Regions from separate parts of the Homo sapiens genome. Here region 2 is linked to region 1. The links are contacts of gene promoters, found by promoter capture Hi-C in human tissues and cell types (Jung and others, 2019). All regions are on one chromosome and are shown on one strand. The core of a region is centred on a gene start or on the middle of the fragment in contact, and the rest is flanking DNA. Distances in the headings are between cores, read along the strand shown. Region 1 holds the start of KCNMA1 (potassium calcium-activated channel subfamily M alpha 1). Region 2 has its middle 46 kb from the start of KCNMA1.

The links. Contacts are between HindIII fragments. The study calls those that stand out against the background at their distance.
Region 2: a fragment that was not itself captured here is called in contact with the fragment with the promoter of KCNMA1 in region 1 in 1 of the 25 tissues and cell types used here (bladder).

What each region holds. Positions count from the first base shown.
Region 1 is chr10:77,635,530-77,642,098 of GRCh38, reverse strand. It overlaps KCNMA1 (potassium calcium-activated channel subfamily M alpha 1), which reads left to right and starts at 4,291. Exons shown (of 28, transcript NM_001161352.2): 1 at 4,291-4,834. The coding sequence starts at 4,457. The HindIII fragment of the contact is 5,846 bases long and covers 2,035-6,569 here.
Region 2 is chr10:77,680,511-77,687,079 of GRCh38, reverse strand. No RefSeq gene overlaps it. Among named protein-coding and RNA genes, the nearest start is that of KCNMA1, 46 kb to the right of the region's middle. The HindIII fragment of the contact is 5,183 bases long and covers 1,504-6,569 here.

The sequences.
Region 1 (6,569 bases), core at 3,042-5,541:
TCCTCTTGGAATTTTCATATCTCAAATTTCAGACTGTTAAATTAAGTCCCTTTTTTGAACATTCATGAAATAATGTCATGTGCCAGGAAAATCCACCAGAGGGCGCTAGATCATTTAAAGAGTCACCACCTGGCTTCTCCATCGCAAAATCGCGAAGATTGATGTCAGAGTATTGGAACTAGGTCCAGGTTGGAGGAAAAGAAAATCCATTGCACATTAATTGCGATGCTGGCCAACATTTTAGCAAATAATCTTTTTTGTTCTCCTTTTACCTTAGTCACTCTGCTTTTTTAGTATGTATGTTTATGCACTTCCTTTTACTTCTTTTAAATCAGTTAGGACTGTTCAGATTAGAATATTTAAGCTTGAAACCTCTGATTTGCTTTGAGAGCTGCCATAGACACACATGCACATGGTACAGAGGCTGCCCTTCTCTCTGGGAAGCTTTTGAATGAATTTAGAAATAAAAATAAGGCTCGTGGTGTTTTCAGAACAGAGGGTGAAGTTTCTACTTCTGTTGAGACTTTCAGTTCTTGTGCAATGGACCTCAATTTCCAGCCTGCAGACACACCTACATTAGGGGAAGATGTGCTGGGCTTAGAGTGCTTCTCTATACCTTTCCCATTTCCAAGGCTGTCCAGGGACTGGCAAGAAAAGGAGTGGTGTTGGGTAGTCAGAGAGCTCATTTAGGCTGGAGGGGCTCTGCTGTGCCCTGGAGTCTGGCCACAGTCTGGCTGTGGACATGCTGTGGACAGCATGACATGCAGGCATGTGCACATACAATTACGAGCTCAGGGGTCAGAAGATCTGGTTAGACTTGCCTGTCCATTTTTGGGGTCACAGTAATTATAGTTAAGATCTGTATAATATTTCCTTCCTTCCTTTTTCTTTTTTCTTTCTTTTCTTTCTTTCTTCTTTCTGACAGTTTCACTCTGTCATCCAGACTGGAGTGCAGTGGTGCAATTTCGGCTCACTGCAACCTCCGCCTCCCGAGTTCAAGCGATTCTTATACCTCAGCCTCCCGAGTAGCTGGGATTACAGACATGTGCCACCATGCCCAGTTAATTTTTGTATTATTAGTAGAGATGGGGTTTCACCACGTTTGCCAGGCTGGTCTTGAACTCCTGACCTCAGGTGATCCCACCGCCTCAGCCTCCCAAAGTGCTGGGATTACAGGAGTGAGCTACCATGCCCAGCCTTCTTTTTCATCCTCACATATAACCCTTCGAGGTAGGCAGGGAAGTTTCTGGCTTTATTTTGATTGTATAAATGAAGAAACACATCAAATCAAAGATACCTAAGGTTCCTTTTAAGTTTGAGGTTCTGTCTGTGCAGAGCCTTTTCCTAAATTTGTAATGCCAGGGGCCAAGTTTTCTGGAAGTGGTGCAAAAGTTTGTGAACAATGTGGAAATGGCCAGAGAGAACTGGGCAAAGGCCTGGGAATGTCTATTTCTGGTGGATGGTAGCACTCTCTCAGTGCTTACCAGCCAGGCCATTCAGGGAGGAGGTGAGAGACTGGGGATTGTAGGAAGGAAAGGATATTGACATCAACACTGAGAGTTTCTGATGATTCCTGACTAAGCCGAGGCTTTGGACAGCACAGAAGTTGCTAAAAGCTTCAATCAGCAGAGGCAGGGGTGATGAAGAGAGCAGGAGATGGCATCTGAGGGGCCTCCAAGCACCCTCTCCAAAGATGCTGAGGTGATGAAGGTGATGATGGAGGAGAAAAAGCTATAGATCCTGCAGTTGGGGTGACAGAAGTCACGGCCATCGGCTGCTTACCAGTAGACCCCAGACTGGCATTTCAGGGGAATCCAGGCTGTAGGGAATGTCTAAGAAGGCCCCAGAGGGGATTTGCTGGTTTGCAAAATTTCAATTTTGTGGGTGAGGGAATCCATTCTGGAGGTTTCATATCCCACTGGGGAGACAGTCCTATCCTTTGCTGCCCTTTTTATGTTCTGGGTGTTTTATTTTTAAATTTCAAATCTTGGCCTTGATTTAAGGAATGTCCTTAACTTTCTTGGCATTGCTGAGGCACAAAAGCAGCAAACTACAGCCATTGAGAGGCTAATAAAGGAACCTCAATGCCATAGTCACCTTCCTGCGCATCCCCACAGCACTTCTGGGTCCCGCTCCCCCAACCCAGTACCAGAAAAGGCCCAGGGCCTTTGCATGCTTGGGTCTGGTGTGGCAGGGATGCATTCAGAGTGGCTGAACACAGAGGCCGAGGTTGGAGGTACTATGGGATGGTATGGAGAGGAGGCTCAGACAATTCCATTTTCTGGAGCACACTTTCTGCAGCTCCCTTTTACATACACTTCTTTTTGAGAACCAAATACTCAAGAACTCTTACCTCATTCCATTTTCTCCTTTGACTTTGGCCTTGACTCTTTCTTAGTGGATGTGTACTCTAAACCCAATGAATGTATTCCGAATCAAGCAAGAGAGAAGCTTCAAACATCCTCTTCAGCCTCTCTGCCCAGCTCAGCCTCCCTTGCTCGCTCTTCCTTCCAGAGACCTCCAAGGACAAGGGCAGGGCTGATCTGACTCTCACGGAGACAGCCTCAGGTGTAAAGCTAAGGATGCTAACTTGGGCCTTTTCCATGGGAAGAGCTGAAAGGAACCTGAGAATTCCAATTAGGCTTAAACTAATGAGCTGGAAACTTTGGGGAAACCACTGCAGCAATGAGGGAAGAGCGTGATCATCCTCGATTTAATTAGCGCTGGAAAAACTTGGGGTCCAGCTGGTAGCACGAGGACGGACGCTGTTCAGGGGGCGCAAAGTTTCTGAAAGTGTCAGAAGGGGGATTCCCCTGGTGGTGTACGGAGACACGCTACGGAACAAACACGGACTCCTTCTTCATCTTAAGTGGGGAGAAGGGAAGACCCTAAATGGGGAACGGTGAGCCAGAATGAAGTCTGGAGTCCCTCTTCCCCCATCTGCCCTCCTCACGGGATGGATGGAGTCTGAGACTATATGAGAGGAAAGCAACCCTTCAGGGAACTCTATTGTCTATCGGGGCCTGCACTATCCCCAGGCCAGGTCGTCCTTGATCATTTCTGCCTACTCTTTGTTGGGCAGCCTCTGTTGCTAATAAGGAAAAAGGAGAGAAACCACCTGCTGCTGTCAGAGGCCACAGACCACCCGCTGGCCTTCCTGACTCTACCCTCCAGCCACACGCGGGACCCTGGGCACATAGGTAGCAGGAAGAGCGAAGTAGGGGTGGGTAGCTGTGTGTATCCTGGCGTGGGGTCCTCCTCACTCCCGAAGCCCGAGGGTCCTGGGGAGCTCAGCCTGTGGAATCCAGTTGACAGCTGGCCACTCCTCCCCTCCCCACTGGGGGCTCTTTGGGGAAAAAAACGGCCTGACCGGGGCGCCCCGCCGTCCTCCCAGTGTACCCCACCGCTCTCGGCTGGGGGCGCAGCACCTTGGAGAGAGGCGCCTGGCCCCGCGCCTGGGCTGGGGGCGCTCTACCTTGCGCCCTGGGGGTCAGGGGCGCTTGCCGGGCCGCTGCCGAGGGGCCCTGCCCACCCCTGCCCAGCCCGGAGCCCAGGCGAGCCAGCGCGGCGAGCCTCCTCCCCTCCCGCCTGGGTCGTCCTGAGTCCGCGCCCGCTCCAGTTGCTGCAGCTGCTGCTGCTGGCGGCTGCGGGGAGCGCGGGGCGCGCGCCGAAGAGGCTTGGGCGGCGAGGACGGGGACGAGGAGGAGTCGGAGGCGGCAAGGAGGAAGAGCGAGCGGAGGCCGAGGGGCTCAGCGGCGTGGCGACAGGACTAGGGGGTCCCGAGAACATGGGCTAGCAGGCGGCCACGGGCCGGCGGCCGGACGCGGTGAACCTGCCGCGGCCGGGCGCGCACTGGCGCGGCGAGCCGGAGCCGAGCGCAGCCGGGGGAGGAGGGCTGGCGCAGGGGCGCCCGGGCGGAGGGGGCCGATTATCCATTATTAACGAGTTACCACCTAATAAGCGGAGAGCGGCTCGTTAGCCGCGCGGGAGGCGCTCGGGGAAGGGGGTCACCGGCCGAGCGCAGCGCACACCCGTGGCGCACGGCGGGCGGCGCGGCGCCGAGGACACCCGGGACCGCGCGCGGAGCCGGGGCGGGCCCGGGGGCGGCGCAGACCCCGGGCGCGGGCGGCCCGCGGCGCCCCCTGGCTCTCGGCGCTCGGGGCCAGCGCAGCCCGGGGCGAGCGGGGCGCGGGCCGGGGAGGGGGAGCTGCCCGCGCACTCCATCCCCCTCCCCCCCGGGCGGGCGGCGGCGGCTCGCTGTATATATCTCGGCGCACCCCGCCAGGTCGCGCACAGCGCCCCGAGCCCAGGCGCCTCCCCGCCCCCCTCCCGCGCTCCGCGGCGGCGGCGGCGGCGGCAGCAGTAGCAGCAATATGGCTGTTGATGGGTGTTTGGGGTGGCGCTGGCGGCGGGAGGAGCTCCCCCGAGCCCCTGCGCCGGCTGCCCGTTGCTAGCTATGGCAAATGGTGGCGGCGGCGGCGGCGGCAGCAGCGGCGGCGGCGGCGGCGGCGGAGGCAGCAGTCTTAGAATGAGTAGCAATATCCACGCGAACCATCTCAGCCTAGACGCGTCCTCCTCCTCCTCCTCCTCCTCTTCCTCTTCTTCTTCTTCCTCCTCCTCTTCCTCCTCGTCCTCGGTCCACGAGCCCAAGATGGATGCGCTCATCATCCCGGTGACCATGGAGGTGCCGTGCGACAGCCGGGGCCAACGCATGTGGTGGGCTTTCCTGGCCTCCTCCATGGTGACTTTCTTCGGGGGCCTCTTCATCATCTTGCTCTGGCGGACGCTCAAGTACCTGTGGACCGTGTGCTGCCACTGCGGGGGCAAGACGAAGGTAACGCGCGCCCCGGGCGCCCGCCCTCTGCGCCAGCCCCACCGCTTCTCGGCGTCCCCTGCAGCCCACCTCCTCGCTCCGCGCCGCGCCGTGCCTCCCTCCATCCCCGCCTGCCTTCCCCTCGCCGCCTTCCCTTCCCTCGGCTCTCCCGGTGCTCTCGGATCGGGGCAGCGGGCGGCGCGCCGGGGGTGAGGAGTTGCCCCCAGCCAGTGCGCTCCGGGACGCGGACGCTCAATCCTGTCCTCTTGTTTATTGTAGGGTTGTTGGCGGCTGCGGCTGGGGCCGGGGTCGGGGACTCACAGGCTCGGGTGCCGTGGTGCGGGGTGGGGACAGCCAACTCAGCGGGGACGGAGGAAGCTGGGGGCAGCTGGGTGCGTGTTTTGCACCGCTCACCTGCCGGGGCTCGGCTCCTGGCGGTGGGCGAGAGGGAGCACATCCGCCCATACTTTAGGAACCTGTTGGGGAGATGAGTTCGTGGGGTCAGAAAGAAGGGAAAAATCCTTTGGGCAAGGGAGAGAATAATTTTGCACAAGGGAATCCCGGGGGAGGAGCATGGCCCGAGATAACAGGGGGACTTCGAGGGGCGAGAGAAGTTGGGGAGATCCATCCCACTATTGGGGGTAGCCCACGGGGCTGCCACTTTTGGAATGTGTCGAGGTCGCATATCTGATGTAACCTCCCACTCCGTCCCTTAGGTGCTCTAGTGGAACATACCCCAAGTTCTTCGGCCTCTGTTCCTTTGCCCCCAGGCCACCCACTTTGGGTCCCCGGAAATGCCACCAGCAGCGCGGAGCTGGAGCGGGAGTCCGCCTGAGGCCGCGGTTTTACGCGGAGCGTCTTCCCTGGCGCTCGAGGTGGCTAGATGTCGTCGGCTTTAGCTATTCCTGGTGCAGACGCCCACCGGCACTGAGGCTGGCGACACCTTCGATGTATGGTTGCTAGGCTCACTGCCTGGTCTGTAGTCGTGTCCCTAGAGATGTCTTCCCTTCCCCACAGCCACTGGCTGGAGTGGGGGACCCGACACTGATAGAAAACTGCAGAATAAAAAAGAAAGAACTGGAAAAAAGAGAGTGAGCCAGCTGCCTTCTTTCTGAGTAATTCCCATCCTAGGGGACTTCACGCGCGAACCGTTTTGGAGGGAAGGGAAATCCAGGGGAATAGTGCAGGGTAGATACACATTGCAGCCTCCACATGTTCACATCTTTTCTAGTAAAGTTAAACCGAGGACCCCTCAAACTTCTACAGGGCACAGCAACTTGTAGCAGCCTCCTTGGCGGCTGAGAGAAGTAGGGAAGCCTGGGGCTATGGGTGAAGGCTGGCTATGAAAACACCAGGGGGGAAGGAGCCTGTCTCTCCTGATCATTAATTATACATCCTGTTGGGTGCTGGAGCTCAGCTGTGTTTTGTGGCAGCACATTTGTGTTTTGGAAAATACTGGTGTATTGGAACAAAGGGAGAAATATGAAAACCATCATTCTCTTCGTCATTCTCTGGCTTCTCCGGAGGCCTGCAGGTGCTGGTCGGAGAGTTTTCTTTGGAATTACCTTCTCAGCCGTAGAGGTTTCTTCTTATTTGTTAAGGAGGCAAACCTCCCACCTTCCAGAGAAGCCCTCAGGTTAAGCAAAGCCCTATACACCAGATCCCTGACTAGCCTTCCTGCTGAGAACAGCTTATTCCTGGAGCCTTCAAATTCCCACATTCCCTCTCTCCATCCTTCTCCTCCACCTCCCCCAAC
Region 2 (6,569 bases), core at 2,846-5,345, 45 kb before region 1:
CTGCAGCTGGGAGGATGGGACTCAGGAAGGATGCAACTGGGAGCTGACCCCCAGAGTTGCAGGAGGGAGCAGCGTTCCTGAAGCTGATGGGGAGGAAGCAGGCTCAGTATGGGAGGGGACCAGGGACACTTCTGGCAGCAGGGAGAACACAGGGATCCATGAAAATGCACCTTGGCAAGGCAAGAAAGTGATAGGCAGGGAATCTCCTCATGGAACACATGTGGAAAGGGAAACCTTTTTGGTTCACTGGGTAAAGGCCCCTTGAGAGCGTGCGTGCGTGTGTGTGTGTGTGTGTGTGTGTGTGTGTGTTTCAAAAGAGGAATGGATTGGCGATTCACACCATTAGTATAGGTTTCGACTAGATTAGTGTTTCTCACTCCTCTTTCAGATTTTTGACCTATCTGTGACCACGTTTTGGACACAAATAGCTATATGATTAAGGAAAACTTGAAATCAATATCATAAGGGAAAGAAAGAATAATCATGAATCATAAATAGAGGATAACCCTTAACAATCACTACACCCACCACAGCAAACTCAACCAGTGTTCATCCTAGCTTGGAACTACTGCCGGTGTCGTGGTCCATGTCAAAATTGAGATAGCAAATGTTCAATCCTAAAGAGAGACCACCTCCAAATAAGGCTTTTTCTTTAAGACAATCAGAAGGCTTGGGGATGAACTGAGAGGTAAACAGCCTCGCACTGTGTTTCCCGCTAATGGCCCTTGTGGGCCCCACTACAAATCCCCACAGGTGGCTTAGCTCTTGATTGTTTCTTTCCCTGCCATCTCCTGTGGCCTGGGGGGAAGACTCTCCCTTTCCTCACCACAAATGCTGTTCCCCAATTTGTAAAACAAGTTTTCTGGTTGGAGAACAATTGCTAGGCTCCTTGGTGCTGTAGCATTCCTTCCATTCAATCCATTGGCCCCTACAGGATTCTTCTATTCCTGGAGGATTTGTCAGGCGTTGCCTTTCACCAGCCATCATCCAGGGAAGGGAAGGGGTTCATGCTGGCATCAGCTCCTTCCACGGGAAGCACCTGTCGGCCTGGCAGGAGGAGTACACTCCACTATTGAGCTTCTGCCTCCAAACTGTCCTCTGGGCCTTGCTCTTCTCCCCATCACCCTGCTTCCGGGTCTTGCCCCATTGAGAGCTTTATGCAGGCTAAATGTTGGTTTGAAAAATAGGATTCTGATGAAAGATTATTGTCTGCCTCCTTACTTGGGCTTTTGAGATGGAGCCTGTTATTATTTGATTTCGTTCAGGGACACCTTCAAAAGAAGGTGGGGGGGGGTGGGGGAAGCCAATTTATCACTGAGAGTGATACAGTCAGAGAGGCAGGTTTCATTTGAGGCTTTGTTTAAAACTTGGCAGAATGCTTTGAAACGTTTTCACCAGCAGGCGGTCAGCAGCATGATGCCCACTCATACTAAGCACAGCACCTATGTCAGAATACAGCAACAGCTGGCTTGAAACAAGTTCATGATGGGAAAATTAGGCCGGAGGAGTGGAAGGTAAATTAGTAGGTAATTATGCTCTTAACACAGGAAGAGTTTCTATAATGAATCCTTTAACCAGGCAATCCCTGGTGAGTTTTAAATAGAATTGTATTTTTTTTTCCAGGCTATGGTAAGAACTTAATAAGATGACCATGTTTAAACCAGATGCATTTTGGGGATGGCTTTCCTTCTGGAAACCACTATCTCCTTTCTGTCTCTGTGAATTGGCCTATTCTGGGCATCTCATAGAAATGGAATCACATGTGGCCTTTTGTGTCTGGCTTCTTTCACTTAGCATAATATTTTCAAGGTCAATCCATGTATCAGAACTTCATTCCTTTTTAGGGATGAATGATTATCTTCTGTCGTATGGATATACCAAGTTTTAATTATCCATTCCTCAGTTGATTGACATTTGGATTGTTTCCACTTTTTGGCTATTATGAATAACACTGCTATGAACATTTGTGTATAGATTTCTGTGTGGAAGTACATGTTCTCATTTCTCTTGGGTATATACCTAGGAGTGGTATATACCTGGGTCCTACGGTAACTTCATGTTTAACTTTTTGAGAAACTGTCAGATTGGTTTCCATGCAGCTGTAGCATTGTACATTCCCACAAACAATGTCTGAGGGTTCCAGCTTCTCTACATCCTTGCGAACACTCATCGTCTGTCTTTTTGTTTCAGTCATCCTAGAGACTGTGAAGTGGTATCTCCTTGTAGTTTTGATTTTTATTTACTTAATGCACACCTGGAATTTAAACTCAAGCCTCAATTCCCAAGTCCCTGCTTTACCCACAATGCCAAAAAACAAGAGGAGCAATGATGTGGGGAAAGGGAATCTTCTACCATTCCCTCCTACTGTGTCTAGGGAGAGAGGGATTTGTTCAGATTCACTGTATGAAAACTCTATTGGACATAATGACAGTATGGGACAGTGTGTTATAGATGATACAAAAAGCTCAGGCCACAGCTTTTTGGGAAGTCTGTTTTTTAAATAGACTTTAAAAGATGAGGGCAGAGAGGATGACATGGAAATGTGGAACCAGTTCATTTAAGACACAATAGTAAAAAACAAAACAAAATCCATCATAGGGCTGGGCGTGGTGGCTCACGCCTGTAATCCCAGCACTTTGGGAGGCCGAGGCGGGCAGATCACGAGGTCAGGAGATCAAGACCATCCTGGCTAACATGGTGAAACCCCGTCTCTACTAAAAATACAAAATAATTAGCTGGGCATAGTAGCGGGCGCCTGTAGTCCCAGCTACTTGGGAGGGTGAGGCAGGAGAATGGCGTGAACCCAGGAGGCGGAGCTTGCAGTGAGCCAAGATCACGCCACTGCACTCCAGCCTGGGCGAGAGCGAGACTCTGCCTCAAAAAAAAAAAAACAAAAAACCATCATAGTACCAGATAGATGATAGACATTCATATCGCCAACAGAGCCAACAAGACAGTGATTTTCAGGGCACGTGCCTACCATTCCCTCCCTCCAGCCTTTTGGGGGAAGGCTCCCTGATGTAGGGCCACTATCCCTGCTTGAGTTGTGTCTAGTTCCTCAGGTTATGGGGGCAAAATCAGCACTGAGTACCACCACTCTCATGGCTGATAATTCCAGAGTAATGCATTTCATCATTATAGAAGTGAATTATGAGTCAATTCAAGTCTTTTTCAAAGGGCAAGTACCACGGTTTTTAACCTTTGAATCCTCAGTGCCTGGCATATAATAGGCTTCTATAAATGTTTGTTGAATTCATCCACCCATCTATCTATCCATCTAATCAACAAATATTTATTGAGCAACTACTTTGTGTCAGGCACTGTCATGGGCTTCAAGGACACAGTAGTGAATAAAACAACTAACATTTCCCTACCTGCATAACACTTACAATCTAGTGGATGAATGAACAAAGTCAACAAGTTTGTGTTTCAAACAATGAATTTGGAGGGAATTTGTAAGCTTTATATGCTACATAAAATAAGGGGTGATTGTCACAAAGAAGTAGCAACACCACTTATGTGGTGGCGTTGACTATGTGCTGTTCACTGTTCTAATACAATATAATAGCAATTTGATTCTCACCATAACCCTGGAGCAGGACGAGCCACAGACAAAACCTCTCAGACACTGAGTTGTAGAAGGAAGGGCTTTATTCAGCTGGGAGCATCGGCAAGCTACTGCCTCAAAATCCGAGCTCCCTGAATGCACAATTTCTGTCCCTTTTAAGGGCTCACAACACTAAAGATTTCACATGAAAGGGTCGTGATTGATTTGAGTAAGCAGGCGGTATGTGACAGGGGCTGCATGCACAGGTGGTCAGACAGAAACAGAACAGGGCAGGGAGTTTCATAATGTTCTTCTATACAATGTCTGGAATCTATGAATAACATCGGTTTCTAAGTTATGAGTTGATTTTTAACTACTGGCTTTAGGCCAGGCAGGCCCAAGCCAGGTTTCGGGCCTGGCGCCGGGCTGCCTGTCTTTGGTTTTACTTCCTTGTTGTTTTTTCTTAAAACAGGTACTGAGTATAAAACAATATAAGACAATATGAGAGGGTCTGTCTCTCTTCTGTCAACCCTATTAGGTGGGAGTTATTATTATTATCTCTGTTTTGTAGATGAGAAAACTGAGGCACAGAGAGGTTAAGTAACTTGTCCAGAATCACACAGCTAGCAGGTGGTAAAGCCAGAATCTGAACCCAGGCAAGCGGCCGCAATGCTTATGATCTTGACTGCGATGCTATGGTCCTTCTAAATGTACAGCGGATATGAATTTGGCATGAGTTGGATTTTGTGCTCTGAGATCTGGCTGCCACAGCTTTTATTCATTGGGTCCATTCTTCTTGGTGCATGCCTGAGAAATTTGGGTTGGCCACAAGCTAGCCAGCCCATTACAGTGGATACAAGAACAGTTTTTCAGGACCCACTCTGTCATCTGTCTGTCCCCATAGGGCTGTCCTCAGTCTGGGTGGCTCATGACCTCATGCCCTTGAAGCTGGCCTTCCCGGAGTACATTCCTTCTATCCCTCTTGATGCCTTTCTCCTAGGTAACTGTGTGGGAATCTGCACCCACCCCTGGCAGCCCCTGAGCAACCTCTTGGCTGTGGCAAGGGCTTGACAGTCAGGAACCTGGCTCCCCAAGCTCAGAGCCACTGCTTCCCATGTGTTTTAATTTCAGGTCTTTATAATAGAGGTTGCCCCTTCAACGATTAGGAGAGACACAAGATAGAAATAAAGGTTTTATTACTTACAGGTCTTGGGAAGTTCACGGCATGCCTAGAGCCCCTCCTCCACAACAGAGAGGGAATGATCAGGGGGTGCACAAAGAAAGAGAAAGTGGGGGGCCCCCTATGCATCAGGGCTTTTATTGAAGCCCAGGGCATTATCCATGCACATTTCCCATAGGGAATTTTAATTGGTGGGTTTAAATGCAAAAGAGCAAGCAGGCATGAGTTCCAGGAGGTCATGCTGTGACTGAGAGGGGGTCACTGTGGCATATCTGCAGTCTGTGTAGGGGGTGAAAGTTAGCGGGCTGAATAGGTTGTCTCTAGCTGTCCCGTGGGGAGGTGAGCACCAGGGAGCAGCTGTGTATGACATTGAAGGACGGCGGGGAGGTGTAGCAGGAGAGACTGTGTCAAGGATAACTGAGCCCTGCTTCTGGTGTGAGAAAAGTAAGCTTATATTTAAAATGGATGCCGAGGGTGGGTCACTTGAGGTCAGGAGTTCGAGACCAGCCTGGGCAACATGGTGAAACCCTGTGTCTACTAAAAATACAAAAATTAGCCAGGCATGGTGACGGGCACCTGTAATCCCAGCTACTCGGGAGGCTGAGGCAGGAGAATCACTTGAACCCAGGAAATGGAGGTTGCAGTGAGCCAAGATTGCACCACTGCACTCTAGCCTGGGTGACAGAGCGAGACTCCATCTCAACAAACAAACAAACAAACAAAAACAAAACCAACAACAAAAACCAAAATGGATCCTGAGGCAGCATAAATTATAAGAATTCACTACATTGTGCCCAGCCCCGTCAGCATCCCCATTGTGGGGCAGAGAGGGAGGTAGGCAGTGAGTGACTGGGGTTTGGTCACATTTACCCCCTGACCCTGGTGAGCTGTGAATTTCTTTGCAAAGGGCAGACCACCCAAGGCTGGTCTCAGTATCTTTGGCTCAGAAGCTGGAAGTACCCCCAAGCAGAAACCAGGAGCGAGGCCTCAGGAGCTGGAGAAATGCACCAAGGACCCTCAGAAATCCAAGAACCTAGGCTGCTAGAATGTTCTGCTAATCAGAAAGCTGGTAAGACTTGGTGTGCCTCACTCACGGCTCTACCCAACCTACTGCTTAGACCGGGGCCATGCACACAACAGGCCCTCTCAAAATACCTGCTGAATGAAAAGGCTGAAAAGTAGATCCTATCTAGTCCAATCTTCTTCTTTTCCAGGAAGGAGAAACTGAAATCTAGCAAGGAGAAGTGACTCGGCTAAGCTAGCATTTGTAGACAATAAATAGGAGAACCAGAGAACCAGGCCAGGCCACCGCTGTGCGCTTTAAAAGCATGGTTCTTTCCATGGCACCAGGTGGTGGCCCCAGGCGGTGGAGGTCGGCGGGATGCCTCTCCTGCTGGCATCCATGTTCAAAGTCCCTGTCCCCACCCTTGATCTCCAGGAACATCTGCTGATTCGCAGCCTAAATGAATAGTGGGAAGGCAGAGAGGAGCCAGTTCACCTTTGCGGTTAGAAGGGCTTTCATGAGAGGAGGGGAAAGAAGAGTGGAAAAGGGGGAATAACAGCAGCAGTAATAGTAACAGCTATGATATTTTTGGGGACCTACTTCTAGCCAAGTCCTGCAAATAAACAAAGCAAATAAGGGGAACTTTCTTTTTCTTTCTTTCTTTTTTTTTTTAGACAGTCTTGCTCTGTCACCCAGGCTACAGTGCAGTGGCGTGATCTCAGCTCACTGCAACCTCCACCTCCAGGGTTCAAGCAATTCTCCTGCCTCAGCCTCCCAAGTAGCTGGGATTACAGGCACCTGCCACCAGGCACGGCTAATTTTTTTTGTATTTTTAGTAG